Regions from separate parts of the Homo sapiens genome. Here all the other regions are linked to region 1. Evidence: promoter capture Hi-C in human tissues and cell types (Jung and others, 2019). All regions are on one chromosome and are shown on one strand. The core of a region is centred on a gene start or on the middle of the fragment in contact, and the rest is flanking DNA. Distances in the headings are between cores, read along the strand shown. Region 1 holds the start of EBF4 (EBF family member 4). Region 2 holds the start of CPXM1 (carboxypeptidase X, M14 family member 1). Region 3 has its middle 26 kb from the start of CPXM1.

The links. The method cuts DNA at HindIII sites, captures the fragments that hold promoters and counts their contacts. A contact is called where the count stands out against the background at its distance.
Region 2: a contact is called between the fragment with the promoter of CPXM1 here and the fragment with the promoter of EBF4 in region 1, in 1 of the 25 tissues and cell types used here (H1 embryonic stem cells).
Region 3: a contact is called between a fragment that was not itself captured here and the fragment with the promoter of EBF4 in region 1, in 2 of the 25 tissues and cell types used here (liver and lymphoblastoid cells).

Annotation. Positions count from the first base shown.
Region 1 is chr20:2,690,992-2,695,364 of GRCh38, forward strand. It overlaps EBF4 (EBF family member 4), which reads left to right and starts at 1,789. Exons shown (of 17, transcript NM_001395167.1): 1 at 1,789-2,791. The coding sequence starts at 2,655. LOC105372507 (a long non-coding RNA gene) reads right to left here and starts at 1,629. Exons shown (of 3, transcript XR_937210.3): 1 at 1,075-1,629; 2 at 349-473. RefSeq lists an enhancer at 2,960-3,944. The HindIII fragment of the contact is 20,356 bases long and covers 1-4,373 here.
Region 2 is chr20:2,798,496-2,802,868 of GRCh38, forward strand. CPXM1 (carboxypeptidase X, M14 family member 1) reads right to left here and starts at 2,132. Exons shown (of 14, transcript NM_019609.5): 1 at 1,906-2,132; 2 at 231-398; 3 at 1-42. The coding sequence starts at 2,077. RefSeq lists enhancers at 1-701, 702-1,689, 1,690-2,675. The HindIII fragment of the contact is 10,377 bases long and covers 1-4,373 here.
Region 3 is chr20:2,772,658-2,777,030 of GRCh38, forward strand. No RefSeq gene overlaps it. Among named protein-coding and RNA genes, the nearest start is that of CPXM1, 26 kb to the right of the region's middle. RefSeq lists an enhancer at 859-1,008. The HindIII fragment of the contact is 6,441 bases long and covers 1-4,373 here.

The DNA of each region.
Region 1 (4,373 bases), core at 539-3,038:
GACAGTTCTTTTAAGAATGGGGAGATCTGAGCAGAGAAAAGAACATATTGAGACACAAACAGGAGATCGGTGGGGTAATCTCAGGAAAGGCAGAAGACAGGACTAAGCAAAAAGGTTCCACATCCATCTCCACAGTGGAAGACCGAGAGAAGAGAACGGGTGAAAAGACAGAAACGAGGAGGAGCATACGCCGCTGATGGTGCCAGCAGGGTTCTGCCAAGATTCCCTGAGTCCTCTCCACTGGGTAAGAGGAAGGGTGTCTGCTGGAAATGAGAGAGCCAGAGGTGGGTCTGAATGTTGGGGAGAGGAGTGGAGCAAGTGTGGAACAGCTCTGGGGGGGCTTCTCACATGTAATGTGTGTACAGGTCTTGGTAAATTGCAGGTTCCGATTCAGCAGGTCCCGGCAGGGCCTAAGAGTCTGGATTCCTCACCAGCTCCCAGGTGATGTCAATGCTGCTGGTCCGGGGACCACACTGTGAGAAGCAAGATTTAGAGAGGCAGATCAGGAGATGGAGAAAGAGACTGGCTTAAGAATTGTCTTAAGGAGAAACCCATGTTTGATAATCCCACCTAGGGTAAAAGCTGAGACCTGAAGGAGTCCTGGTGGGAATGGCAGCCCCCTGTGGGTGATGGGGAGAGGCATAGAGAGAAGGGGTGGTAAAGAGACCAGGAAAGGAGGTGAGAGGGCCTCTGTGATGGCAGGAGAACCAGCAGTGCCCCCAGGACGCCTCATCTGGGCCAATGTGTGACAGAACGCTAACTCACACTTGGAGGCCCCCCAGAAGAGGATGGGAGTGAGTTGGAGCAGGAAGGTGTTATTGCAGGGGTGTCTGAGCGTGAACATGGCAGGCAGGGCAGGTGGCCCCCATGCTGTTCTGCAGGAAAGTGCTGGACTCAGTCTGGGCTTGCTCGAAGCCTGGCCAGGACAACGTGGGGAGAGGGGCAGAAATGTCTCTGCCCCACGGTCAAGGGCCAGACGACTTCTGTGCCAGGAACTAATAAAAAAAAAGGAATGGGATCTGAGACGGGACGCGGCTGGGGAGAAACAGGAGGTGAGCTGGGCTCTGAGCCTACCTGTCCAACTCGCAATCAGAAATCAGGAGGTTCCTGAAAGGCACAGATGGAAACTGAAAATGCTTTAGGCTTAGGTAACCCAGCATCAGGAATCGGGATGGTTGGATGCAGGGACCTCGCCCAGCTTGTCTGGGGCCGCAGCCTACGGCAGGGACGTTTCAGTCCTTAGCTGGGGTGAAAGTGAGGTCAGGGTCGCCGGGGAAATGCGGGAGTACAGTCACGCGGGAGAAAGACGTCAAGAGCGAAAGCTCGGAGGCGTCAAAATGAGCAGCAAGTCCAGGCACAAGGCGTCGGGCGCGGAGAGTACGGCGGGTGCCGGGGGAGGGAGATGAGGCCGCGAAGACGCCGGGGCTTCGTCCGGCGGCGACGGGGAGGCCGCGGAGGTTCCCGAGCGCAGCGGGGCGCGCACCTCCCGCTCGGGCCGGGCTCCCTCGCCGCGCGGCCCCGGATCCTCCCTGCGCGGGTTTCCGTGGCCCCCGCCGGGCTCTTCCGTTCCCTCCCGCGGCCTCGACCAGGCCGCAGCCCCCAGCCCAGGCGACCGACTCGCCAGGGTCCGCCCCGCCGCCGCGGCCCGGGCCCGGCCGCTCCTCCCCCGATGATGTCACGTCCCCGGCCGCCCCTCGGCCGGCCGCGCCGCCCCGCCCCCGCCTCCCCCGGGCCCCCGTCCCCTGGGCCCGCCCGCTCCCGACATCCCTCCTCCCGCCTGCGCTCCCTCCCTTCGGCTACCGCTCCCCCGGGAGCGGCGGCGGCGGCGGCGGCGGCGGCGGGATGGCCCGGGCCCGAGGCCAGGCCCCGGGGAGCGGCGGGCGGCGGCGGCCGCGGCGGGGCGGCGCGGGAACCGGGCCCCGGGGGGAGTCGGCCGGGCTGCTGCTGCTGCTGCTCCAGGTGCTGCCGCCCGGGGCTACGGCAGGGCCGGGACGCCGGGGCACGCGGGGCGCTGGCGCTGGCGGCGGCGGCGTCTGCTGGCCCGGCGCGGCCCCAGCCTTTCCCCGGGACGCGCGGCTGCTGCTGCTCCTGCCGCCGCTGCCGCCACTGTCGCCGCCGCCGCCGAGCTCCGCGCCCGCAGCCTCCGCCTCCCGGATGGTAATCAGCGCCCCGCGCTGGCGCCGCGGGCGGGCGGGCGGGCGGGAGGTGGGGGCGGCGAGGGGGAAAGGGCGGGCGGCCCCGCGCCCCCGCCTTGCCCGAGGCAGCTCCCGGGGCGCTCGGGCCCCCCCTCCGACGACCGCGGCCCCGGGCAGCCGCCAGAGCGCGCCTCTGGGGCGCCTCCGCGCGGACCGGGTGCGGGCTCCGCTCCCCGCCCTCCCCGCCCCGCTCGCAGTCCGCCCGCCAGCGCTCAGGCCGCGGGGGAATCCCTCCATCTCCCCGCCCAGCGCCCCAGGAGGGGAGGGGACAGCGCCGGCGCCCGCGGACCCGCTTTCTCCGAGGGAGCGCCCAAGAGGCGAGCGCGCACTGAGCCACCCGGACTCGGCGCTGCGCTGCTGGAGGCGCCTGGTGCCGTCGGGTCGGGCTGAGCTAGACGCCCGCAGCCTCAGCGGGACCGGATCCGGGGCGGCGGGGGCGCTCACTCACCGCGCGCCCTCATGTTCCCTGCGCAGGACGCTCTGCCCCGCAGCGGGCTGAACCTGAAGGAGGAGCCGCTGCTGCCCGCCGGCCTGGGCTCAGTGCGCTCCTGGATGCAGGGCGCGGGCATCCTGGACGCCAGCACCGCGGCGCAGAGGTAAGCGCTCGGACCGGACCCGGTGCGCTCGGGTTGGACGGCTGCGCGCCGCCTCAGCTCAGCTTGCTGGAGCTGCTGGAGCCAGGGGCGGAAGGAGCCCTAACTCTGGACGGTCCCGGCGAGCTCCCCGGCCCACCCCGTCCGGAGTGCCTGTGCTGCCTCCTGAGGCTGTGGGGCGGGCTGGGGCGGGGCTTCTGCCTCCACTCCGGGCTGCCCCGGTAGATTTCTGACGGCCGCTCGCGGGTGCGGCGGTGAACGCCACCCCAGCCGGGCTGTCTATGGCTCTGAGAGAAGAGGCAGAGCTCCCAGCCATGACCCACAGCCACCGGCCGTCTAGGAACGTCCAGCCCCTCCTTCCTGGGCAGTCCCAGTGACTCTCCTTGTCCAATTCCGCAGCTCTCTGTCAGGAAAGGCACGAAACCCAGCCCCCTTTTTCCTTTCCCACGCCCCTCAGAGTTGGCGGATGGGGGTGTGCAGAGCCAGAGAAGCGGCTGGGGGCTGGACGGTGGCGAAGAGATGAGGTGGGCAGTCGGCCTGGCTGGACTGATTGGCCTGGGAACTGGGCAGGGCCCCTGCCTTTCCCTCGGGTGTTTTTCTGGTAGGTCCTTTGGAAGGCAGAGAGTCCCTGGGAACCCAGCACCCGCGCCGGTCTCCTCTGACTCCTTTGCAGGGGTCTGGGAGTCTCAGTAGGGGGTTGACTCCAGGATTTGAAAGCGAACTTTAAAAGTTTATTGACCTGCCCCCAAAGCCCCTGCACCCCCTGGCTTTTTGCACCTTCAGCTGTGACCATGGAGGGAGGCATTTAGGTATCCTATGGGGAGTCACAGTGGTTAGGATTAGGGAGGTGCCAGCTCTGCTGACAGCTGGGACAGGGTGGGCACTTGGCTTCCCAGAAGTCTGAGCTGTTGCAGCAGCCCGAAGGGATTCTGAATGGGGGGCTTAATGCAGACCGGGCCTGACACAGGAGCCCACATTCACACTCCGCAGGACGCCTCAACCTCACCGTGTAACAGACACACACCGCGCTTCATGTGCAAACTGAAGCCGTTTCTGCACGCCGGTCCTTTCCTGGCTGTCGGGAGGGAACGCTGGGGGGCTCTGGAGCTGATCTCTTACGGAAGAGAAAGGGTCTTGTGGATGAATTAATTTCCAAAACTTTTACAAGGGATATAGCTATATTCTAGAAAAATTGGAAAATAAAAAATTTAGTCCCTCCTCTGTAATACAACTACTGTCAACATTTTAGTGTATTTCCTTCCTATTTTTCTTCCCATTAACTTGTGTTTTCCTGTGCTATGCTTACAATTCCACCTCCTGCCTATTCTTCTGTTGGTTCTGGCTTTTTTTTTTTTCAACTTGAGAAGGTTAGTTTCTTAACATGGCCCCCTCTTTGGCCCCACCACCTGCTGTGTGGCGAGAGCTCTTTGTAAGAGTGGGTGAGGAGTGCTGATGGGGGCCTCTGGGAGTTAAGGTTCCATTTCTCTGCAACCTTTCCCTCTGTGCCTACCCAGAGGCAGGTCTGATGAAGGGGAAGCAGACGTGAAGGAGGCAGTGCCCTTGGAGACTGCGTGGGGTTCAAGAA
Region 2 (4,373 bases), core at 882-3,381, 110 kb after region 1:
TATCTGAAACTCGCAGGGACTCCAGACCCAAAGGAGGACAGCCTGGGGCGGGGATAGAACAGTGAGACAGGACCAGAGGGAGGGTAGCCAGGGCAGGTGGGAAGCTGAGCCTAAGGTTGCTCCTGCGCTAGGCAAGCAAGGGGCGTGCCGGTGCCCATGAGGCCAAGAGCTGTGCTGGTAAAGTGCCCCAGGGGCTGCAAGTCTGGGCTGGGCCCCTGGAGAGGAAGTACCTGTTTCTTGTTTCTCAGCGGGGTCGAGGGTCCCTGCTGGAGTGGGGGTCACAAGGGGCCCGGCAGTCACCAGTGGGGTGGGGCGAGTTAGAGTTAGCTTCTTCCGCTTCTTCATAATGACCTTTTTCTTCTTGATGACTCGAATCCGGACATGCTGTTCTGAGGTCCCTTGGGGTCCGAGAGGCACAGCATGGGGGAAAGGAAGAATGGTGAAACCCCGGATGGAAAGGTCTGCCAGCCCAAGAAGACATGTGAGCCCACAGCAGGCCACACCACCAGGATCTAACAGCCTTCACAGGACATCAAAGGCCTGCAATCTGACCCCAACCTGCCTCTCCAGTCACTTCCTTGGCTCCTCCTTCTCCTCCCTGATGTAACTACATGCTTGGCCAGCCTCCCCTGTGAACCTCTAATCCAATGGAGAGCTGCACCCAGCCTCTAGAAACTGTTCGGTTGCTCCAAAGAGCTGAGTCTGGCACTTTACCTCCGGGCCTCTGCACTAGCTATCCCCTCCCCTGTAATGCTACCCCTCGCCTCTGATTTTTTCACCTAATTCCCATTCTTCCTTTGCATCTCAGCCCAGATGCCTTTCCAAGGAGGCTTTCTTAGCTCCAGACTCAGCATCATGCCCCAAAACCCCTGTGCCGCTTCCATTGTTGTGTCTGCTCTCTGGGCTCAGATGGCCTGTCCTGGAATCCATGTCTGCCTGGGTGTCGAGGCTTTCAGGGCTGGGCCTGCCCGCCGGCCCTTCAGCACAAGGCTCTGCCCAGGCAGGTGCTGGGGGTACCCATCGAAGCTCCACAGCTGCCTCCAGAACAGGCTGCCCATTTCCGCATCTGGTGCCCCTGTGCCTTTGCCCGCCGCTTCCTTCTTGGCAGCCCTCTCTCTCTCTCTCTCTCCAGACTCCCCTGACTCGGGGACATCACCCTTCAAGACCCTCCTCCACTTGCCTCCTCTAGAAGCCCCTGAGTGCCCTCCGCTTGCGCTCCTCCTCTCCTATTCCACATCTGGAAAGCTGGGAGGTCGGGCTGCCTTCCTCTCCCGCTCTGCCCCATCCTCCCGGCAGCCTCAGCGAGGGGCTCTCCCTTCTTTCCTTTTGTTCTTTCTCTCCAGCCCTCGCCTTCAAACTCTCTCCTACGCAGTCTTGCTCTGCACCTTGAGAGCTTCTGCCCCTCTGTCTCCCCTCCTGCCAGTTCTGGCCTGTTTTGTCTTTGGTGAAAAGGGAAGGTTTGGGGCTTGGAAGAGGCAGCATCCCACTGGCGCCTGTCCTGGGACTGCTGACTAGGTCTGGCAGGGAACTGGGGCTGCCGAGTCAGCAGCCATTGCTCCCAGCAGGGAGTTGAGGGAGTGTGAGTGTGTATATGTGTGTGTGCACTGTGAGTGTGAGTGTGCGCGCGCGTGCACTGTGTGTGCGCGCACGCGCGTGTGAGTGTGCGTGTGTGTGCATGCGTGTGAATGCGCGCGCGTGTGAGTGCAAGTGTGCGCGTGTGTGAATGTGTGTGAGTGCGCGCGCGTGTGTGCGCGTGAGTGCGAGTGTGCGTGCGGGGTGAGTGTGCATGACTGTGAGTGTGCGTGGGTGTGCGTGTGCCCGCGTGTTAGGGAGGGATCGCCCCACGGGGCAGGAGAGCCGGGCAGTCGGCTTGCGGGGGAGCGGACCGTCGGTCGGGGAACTCACCGTTAGCTGTCTCCGCCGGCGGCTGTGCCGGGCTGCTATGCAGGGCCGGGGTCGAGCCTGGGACCTTGGTGGTCCCGGGCTGCGCGAGGCCCAGCACCGAGTTCCTGGGCGCCCCCAGAGCCGGGCCGACGGCCGGCGCGAAGGCGGCCAGGGCGAGCAGGAGCCCCCACATGGCGGGGATTGAGTGCCAGGGGCGCGCGGGCTACGGCGGGTGGCGGGTCGGTCTCTTCCTGCCGAGTGCGCCGAGCCCCCCGCCCCTTCCTGCCCCCCGCCCCTCCGCAGCCTCCTGCCCGCCCACAGCCCGCTGCCCGCCTCGGACCTCGGAGAGGAGGAGAGGGCCGGGAGGAGCGAGCGGGGCTGACCTCCAAGGGGCCGCCCCAAGTCTCAGGACCGCCGACTCTGCCCTTCCTCTCCGCCGTCTGGGGCCAACCCGCCTCGTTGGCGCGCTGCGCCTTTATAGTCTGCAAAGCCACACTGAAGAGACCAGAGATCACCTGGTGGCCATCAAGTCGACCAACAGGAGGCAAAGCCCCTTATCTGAGCAATTCAGAATGACACTTCCCTATTGTCTAAAGCCACATCTGGTACCAAGCTTCCGTCCCAAGAATTTATAAGTAACTAGAATTTCTGTACGTTTCCGGAATGAGTGCACGTTAAGACCCATTGTGCAAACTTTGCTGACATCAAGGCACCAAAATATCGACAAATGTAACCATTTACCATGACCTAAGTGACTAATGTGGTCCAAATTACCCTGCAGTTCCCCGCAGGGAGCTCAGTCCTCTCTTGCTGAAGCGCCTACTGCGCTCTGCTGCCTCGTCCTTTCCGTCTAATAAAACTTTCCTTTTCAGACCTACACGGTTGTTGATAAGTTCTTTTACCACCCGGGAGCCAACCACTTCCCGGTTCCGGAGCTCTGACACCTCGCCTGGCATCTTGGTGGCCCATACGGGGACTTCACTGGGATTTCCCTCTTCCTTTTTCTCTCTGCTTCCTTCCACGGTCTGGTTCTTTACTCTTTGGGGAACTGCCGGTCCCGGTGGAGGCAGCTCTTCTGTGGGATCCTGAAGCCCTAGAGAAGGGATACCTGGCTGTCCTTGCCCTTAGGGGTGAGGGACTGGCCAGGGCTCTTTTCTGTTTTCGGACTGCCAGTGAACCAGCTTGAGTTCTCGTTGGCAACTGACAGTTTCTGGCCAAGCGCCATCCCCCGGTATTACCCCAAGGCCAAGACAAAAGAGCTATTGCCTGTCAGAGTGGCAGGGCACTTTCATTTTAACACTCCATAAGCCTTGTCCTGGAAGCGGTGGATCTCAATTCTACACAGGGATGCCTCAGGGATCTTGTAGTTCCTTGTCTAAACCCAACTTCGGTTCAATTAATTCAGTTCCATCCAACTCGCCCTTGGATTGCCTCCTTAAAAATGGTCCCATTGGTCTCATTTTGACCCACAAACTCTTAAAAATAAGCATATAAGGCTGAGCACAATGGCTTATGCCTGTAACCCCAGCACTTTGGGAGGCCAAGGCAGGCAGATCACCTGAGGTCCGGAGTTAAAGACCGGGAGTCTACTAAAAATGCAAAACTTGGCCGGGCACAGTGACTCACACCTGTAATCCTAGCACTTTGGGAGGCCGAGGCGAGTGGATCACCTGAGGTCAGGAGTTCGAGATCAGCCTGGCCAACATGGCGAAACCCTGTCTCTACTAAAAATACAAAAAAAAAAAAAAAATCAGCCAGGGGGCTAATTATATGTGGCGGGCACATATAATCCCAGCTACTAGGGAGGCTGAGGCAGGAGAATCACTTGTACCCCGGGGGCGGAGGTTGCAGTGGGCCAAGATGGCGCCACAGCACTCCAGCCTGGGCGACACAGCAAGACTCTGTCTCAAAAAATACAAATAAAAAATAAATAAGAGTTTAAAAAGCATATCCTTTTTTCTAATATTGCTTGGGTTCAATACAAGCTCCCTAATCAATCAATTTGGCCAATTAATGAAACTTGGGATTGCAATGCTACTTTACAACTTAACTGATTTTTTGCCGGAACCTTGGAAAGGATTCAGAAGTCCCATATGTTCAGGTCTTTTTTGCTTTATCCCCAAATCCAAACCCAAAATTACATACAAATTGTCATGTATGCTTCCAAGGAACGTCCTCCCTTCCCGGTTCTGATGTCTTAGATGATCCTTCCTTTTGCCTATTACATCCTCCTCAACCTGCTCACTCTTCACCTACACCCTCTCCATCTGCTCCATTCCCTAGTCAATCTCCCACCCACATACCCAAATACTTTCTCCCCTTCACATACTCTCAGGGGAGTCACATATGCTACTAGTACAGAGTCCTCAGAAAAATCCCCAAAATATTTTGCCTCTCCCTAAGGTGGCTAATGAAGATTTGGGAACAAGCCAAGTTCATGTCCCTTTTCTGATCATGTCTGATCTTTTGCAAATTCAATCCAAGTTGGG
Region 3 (4,373 bases), core at 1,341-3,840, 82 kb after region 1:
TGCACTCCAGCCTGGGCAACAAGAGCGAAACTCCATCTCAAAAAAAAAAGAAAAAAGGCCAAGTTTCAACCAAAAATCACTTGTCATGCCAGGAACCAGGAAGATCTCAAACCAAATAAAGAAAGGCCATCTATTGGATGTAACACCAAGATGCTAGAATTAACCGATGAAGATATTAAAGTAGTCATGATCAAGATACTTCAACAAACAACTAAGAATATGCTTAAAATAAATGAAAAAATTGCCTCAGCAAAGAAATAGAAAGTCTCTGAAAAAGTAGATGATAACAAGAGCCAAATGGAAACACTGAAACTGACAAAACAGAATCACTAAAATTTTAAAATTCAGTGGATGGGCTCAACAACAAAATGGAAGGTACAAAGGAAAAAATCCATAAACTCAATGACAGAATAATAGAAATGGCCAAATCTGTAAAGAGAGAAGAGAAACTGAAAAAAAAAAAAAGATAAAGAGAACCTCTAGAGACTGTGGAGCTATAACGAAAGAGCTAATATTAGTGTCACTGGAGTTCCGGAAGGAGAGCAGGGCTGGGTGTGGTGGCTCATGCCTGTAATCCCAGCACTTTGGGAAACTGAGGCAGGAGGATTGTGTGAGCTCAGGAGTTTGAGACCAGCCTGGGCAACATGGTGAAACCTTGCCTCTACAAAAAATACAAAAATTAGCCACATGTGGTGGCATACATCTTAGTCCCAGCTACTCAGGAGGCTAAGGTGGGAGGATGGTTTGAGTGTGGGAGGCAGAGGTTGCAGTGAGCTGAGATTGCACTGTTGTACTCCAGCCTGGGCAATAGAATGAGACCCTATCTCAAAAAAAGGAAAAGAAAAAGAAAGAAAAGAAGAAAAATACTGGAAGAAATAGTGGCTGAAAATTTGCCACTTATCACTCATGTCATAAGGGCCTTCAGCCACTGAAACACTGTTTTCATTTTTTTTGGGGGGGGGTTTGTTCTGTTTTGTTTTTTTGTTTTTGTTTTGAGACAGAGTCTCGCTCTATCACCAGGCTGGAGTGCAGTGGTGCGATCTCAGCTCACCACAACCTCTGCCTCCCAGGTTCAAGCAATTCTCCTGCTCAGCCTCCCGAGTAGCTGGGACTATAGGCACGTGCCACCACGCCCAGCTAATTTTTGTATTTTTAGTAGAGACGGGGTTTCACCGTGTTGGCCAGGATGGTCTCGAGCTTTGACCTCATGATCTGCTCACCTCGGCCTCCCAAAGTGCTGGGATTACAGGCCTGAGCCACCCTGCCTGGCCTCTGTTTTTTTTTTTTTTTTTTTAAGACACATTCTCACTCTGTCTCCCAGGCCGGAGTGTAGTGGCACGACAATAACTTACTATAACCTTGAACCCTTGGGCTCAAACAACCCTCCTGCTCAGCCTCCTGAGTAGCTGGGACCACAGGCACGTGCCATCACGCCCAGCTAATTTTTTAATTTTTTGTAGAGATGCAGTCTCGCTATGCTGCCCAAGCTGATCTTGAATTCCTGGCCTCAAGCAATCCTCCTTCCTTGACCTCCCAAAGTTTGGGATTACAGACATGAGCCACTGCGCCCAGCCCTGAAACACTTTTTGAAGCTCGTATTAGTAACCTAATAAGTAACCTAAGCCATCAGAGGTATCTATATTTCATATAGCTGTGTTTCTAATAAAGCTGTAATTAAAAGAACATTTGTAACTTAAAGTTCTAAGTTGTCTCAGGGGTTGGGTCACTATATTGAGTGTACTCCCCCAATTCTTCTCCTCACATGCAGATTTTAGTAAGTGATAGTTTTAAATTAAATTTTGAACCTGTGCTTTGCTTTGTTTTGTTTTGTTTTGTTTTTTTCTGATACAGGGTCTCACTCTGTCTTCCAAGCTGGAGTGCAGTGGCGCGATCTCGGCTCACTGCAACCTCTGCCTCCCAGGTTCAAGCGATTATAGACATGTGCCACCATGCCCGACTAATTTTTGTATTTTTAGTAGAGACGGGGTTTTACTATCTTGGCCAGGCTGGTTTCAAACTCCTAACCTCAGGTGATCCACCCACCTTGGCCTCCCAAAGTGCTGAGAGTAGAGGCGTGAGCCACTGCATCCTGCCAAGCCTGTGCTCTTTGTTGCCTCCATACTGCTTCACAAACATGGGGGCATTGAGCTTGGAACTTTCTCGCAGAGGCTGAAACCACCTTTGTCTTCCTCTCCATGGAAATTAAATAGGTTTCATGTCAAGCATAGTACATATGATGTCTGTACAAATTAGAAAAAGGTGTCTCTTCCTCAAGCCCCCCCCCCAAAAAAAGTGTTATGTTAATATTTATTCCTTAACGACAATAATTAAGATAAACATACAGGAGCACTTGCCCCTCCCCCAAAGCCGACAGCCTTCGTGTCACCTGATGTATTAGCTGAAGCAGTATTCCTGGGTGAGAAATGTGTTGTTTCCAGAATCCAGAGGCCACCAAGTGCTGTGCTTCCTTCTTTGTGGCAGGGGATACAAAATACAGCAATTAGTCTCTAACTTTGGAGGAGCTATCCTGGCATGCCCTTGGCCAACAGACCCCGTAAAACTTGACCAAAATGGCAGGTCCCTGAACCCTCCCAGAGTTTATCTCCTACCATCTGGATTGCATGTGTCTCACCAAGGCCTCCAGTGTGCTAGCCATGTTGTGCTCATCCTGCCCGCCTGCATGACGTCAGTAACATAAAGGATCACTGCAGTGTCTGCATGACATATGGATAGTACAGAGACCTTCAAACTATATTATGATACAGACCAGGAAAATTAACATAGCCCTAGGGCAAAACACTGAGTAAATATTTATGTGAATGAGGACTGTTTCTGATCTTCTTTTCTAATTGGGATGGAACTCTAATATAAAATCCACCACCGTAACAAACTGAAAGAGAGAAAATATACGGTCACCTCAAAAGATGCAGAAAAAGCATTTGACAAACCTAACATCTGCTATAAAAATTCTCAGCCAGCTAGGATGAGAAGAAAACCTCTACAACATGATAAAGGGTATCTATGAAAACCTAACAGCTAACCCTAAACTGAATGTTTTTGCCCTAAAATCAGGAAGTAGGCAAGGATGCCCAGTCTTACCACTTTTGTTTGTGCTTCTTTGATCTGAAAATATATGGCTTTCACAAAATTTGAGCAGTTTTCAGCCATTGTTTCTTAACTTTCATTTAATATAGTACTAGAAGCCCTAGCAAGTGTGATAAGGCAAGAAAAATAAACAAAAGTCTTAATATTGAAAGGAAAAAATAAAATTATTCCCACTCACAAATGATATAATCATCTGTGCATAAAATCCTAAGGAATATATATATGTATATATTTGGAAAAAAACAGCTCCACGGCCAAGCATGGTGCCTCACACGTGTAATCCCAGCACTTTGGGAGGCCAAGACAGGAGAACTGCCTGAGGCCAGAAGTTCGAGACCAGCCTGAGCAACACAGGGAGACTCCATCTCTACAAAAAATGTTTAAAATGGCCAGACATAGTGGTGTGTGCCTGTGGTCCCAGCTACTTGGGAAGCTGAGGCAGGAGGATCACTTGAGCCCAGGAGTCTGAAGCTGCAGTAAGCTGGATCGCACCACTGCAGCACACAGCCTGGGCAATAGAGTGAGACAGCTGTCAAAAAAAAAAAAAATAAAGCTTCTAACTAATATTCAAGTTTATCAAGATCACAAGATTTGAGATCAATATACAAAAATCAACTACATTTCAATATATTAGCAAGGAACAATTAAAAATCAAATTTAAAAAATAACACCTGCATTTGTTTGCTAGGACTGACATTAAAAAGTACCACAGACCAAGTGGCTAAAACGACAGAGATTTATTTTCTCACAGTTCTAGAGGGTGGAAGTCAAAGATCGAAGTATCAGCTGATTTGGTTTCTCTTAAAGCCTCTCTCCTGGCCCTACAGGTGCCTACCTTCTCCCTATGTCTTCACATGGTGGACAGAGAAAACTCTTGTGTCTCTCTCCTCTCTTTTTTTTTTTTTTTTTTTGAGACAGTCTCACTCAGTTGCCCAGGCTGGAATGCAGTGGTGCAATCTCGGCTCACTGAAACCTCCACCTCCCTCGTTCAAGCGATTCGCCTGCCTCAGCCTCCTGAGTAGCTGGAATTACAGACTCGTGCCACCACCCCTGGCTAATTTTTGTATTTTTAGTAAAGATGGGGTTTCGCCATGTTAGCCAGGCTGGTCTCAAACTCCTGACCTCAACAGCTCCGCCCACCTTGGCCTCCCAAAGTGCTGGGATTACAGGTGTAAGCCACCACGCCAGCCTCTCTCTCTTCTTAAAGGGACACTAGTCATACTGGATTAGGGCCCACCCATGTGAACTTAATTACTTCTTTAAGGTTC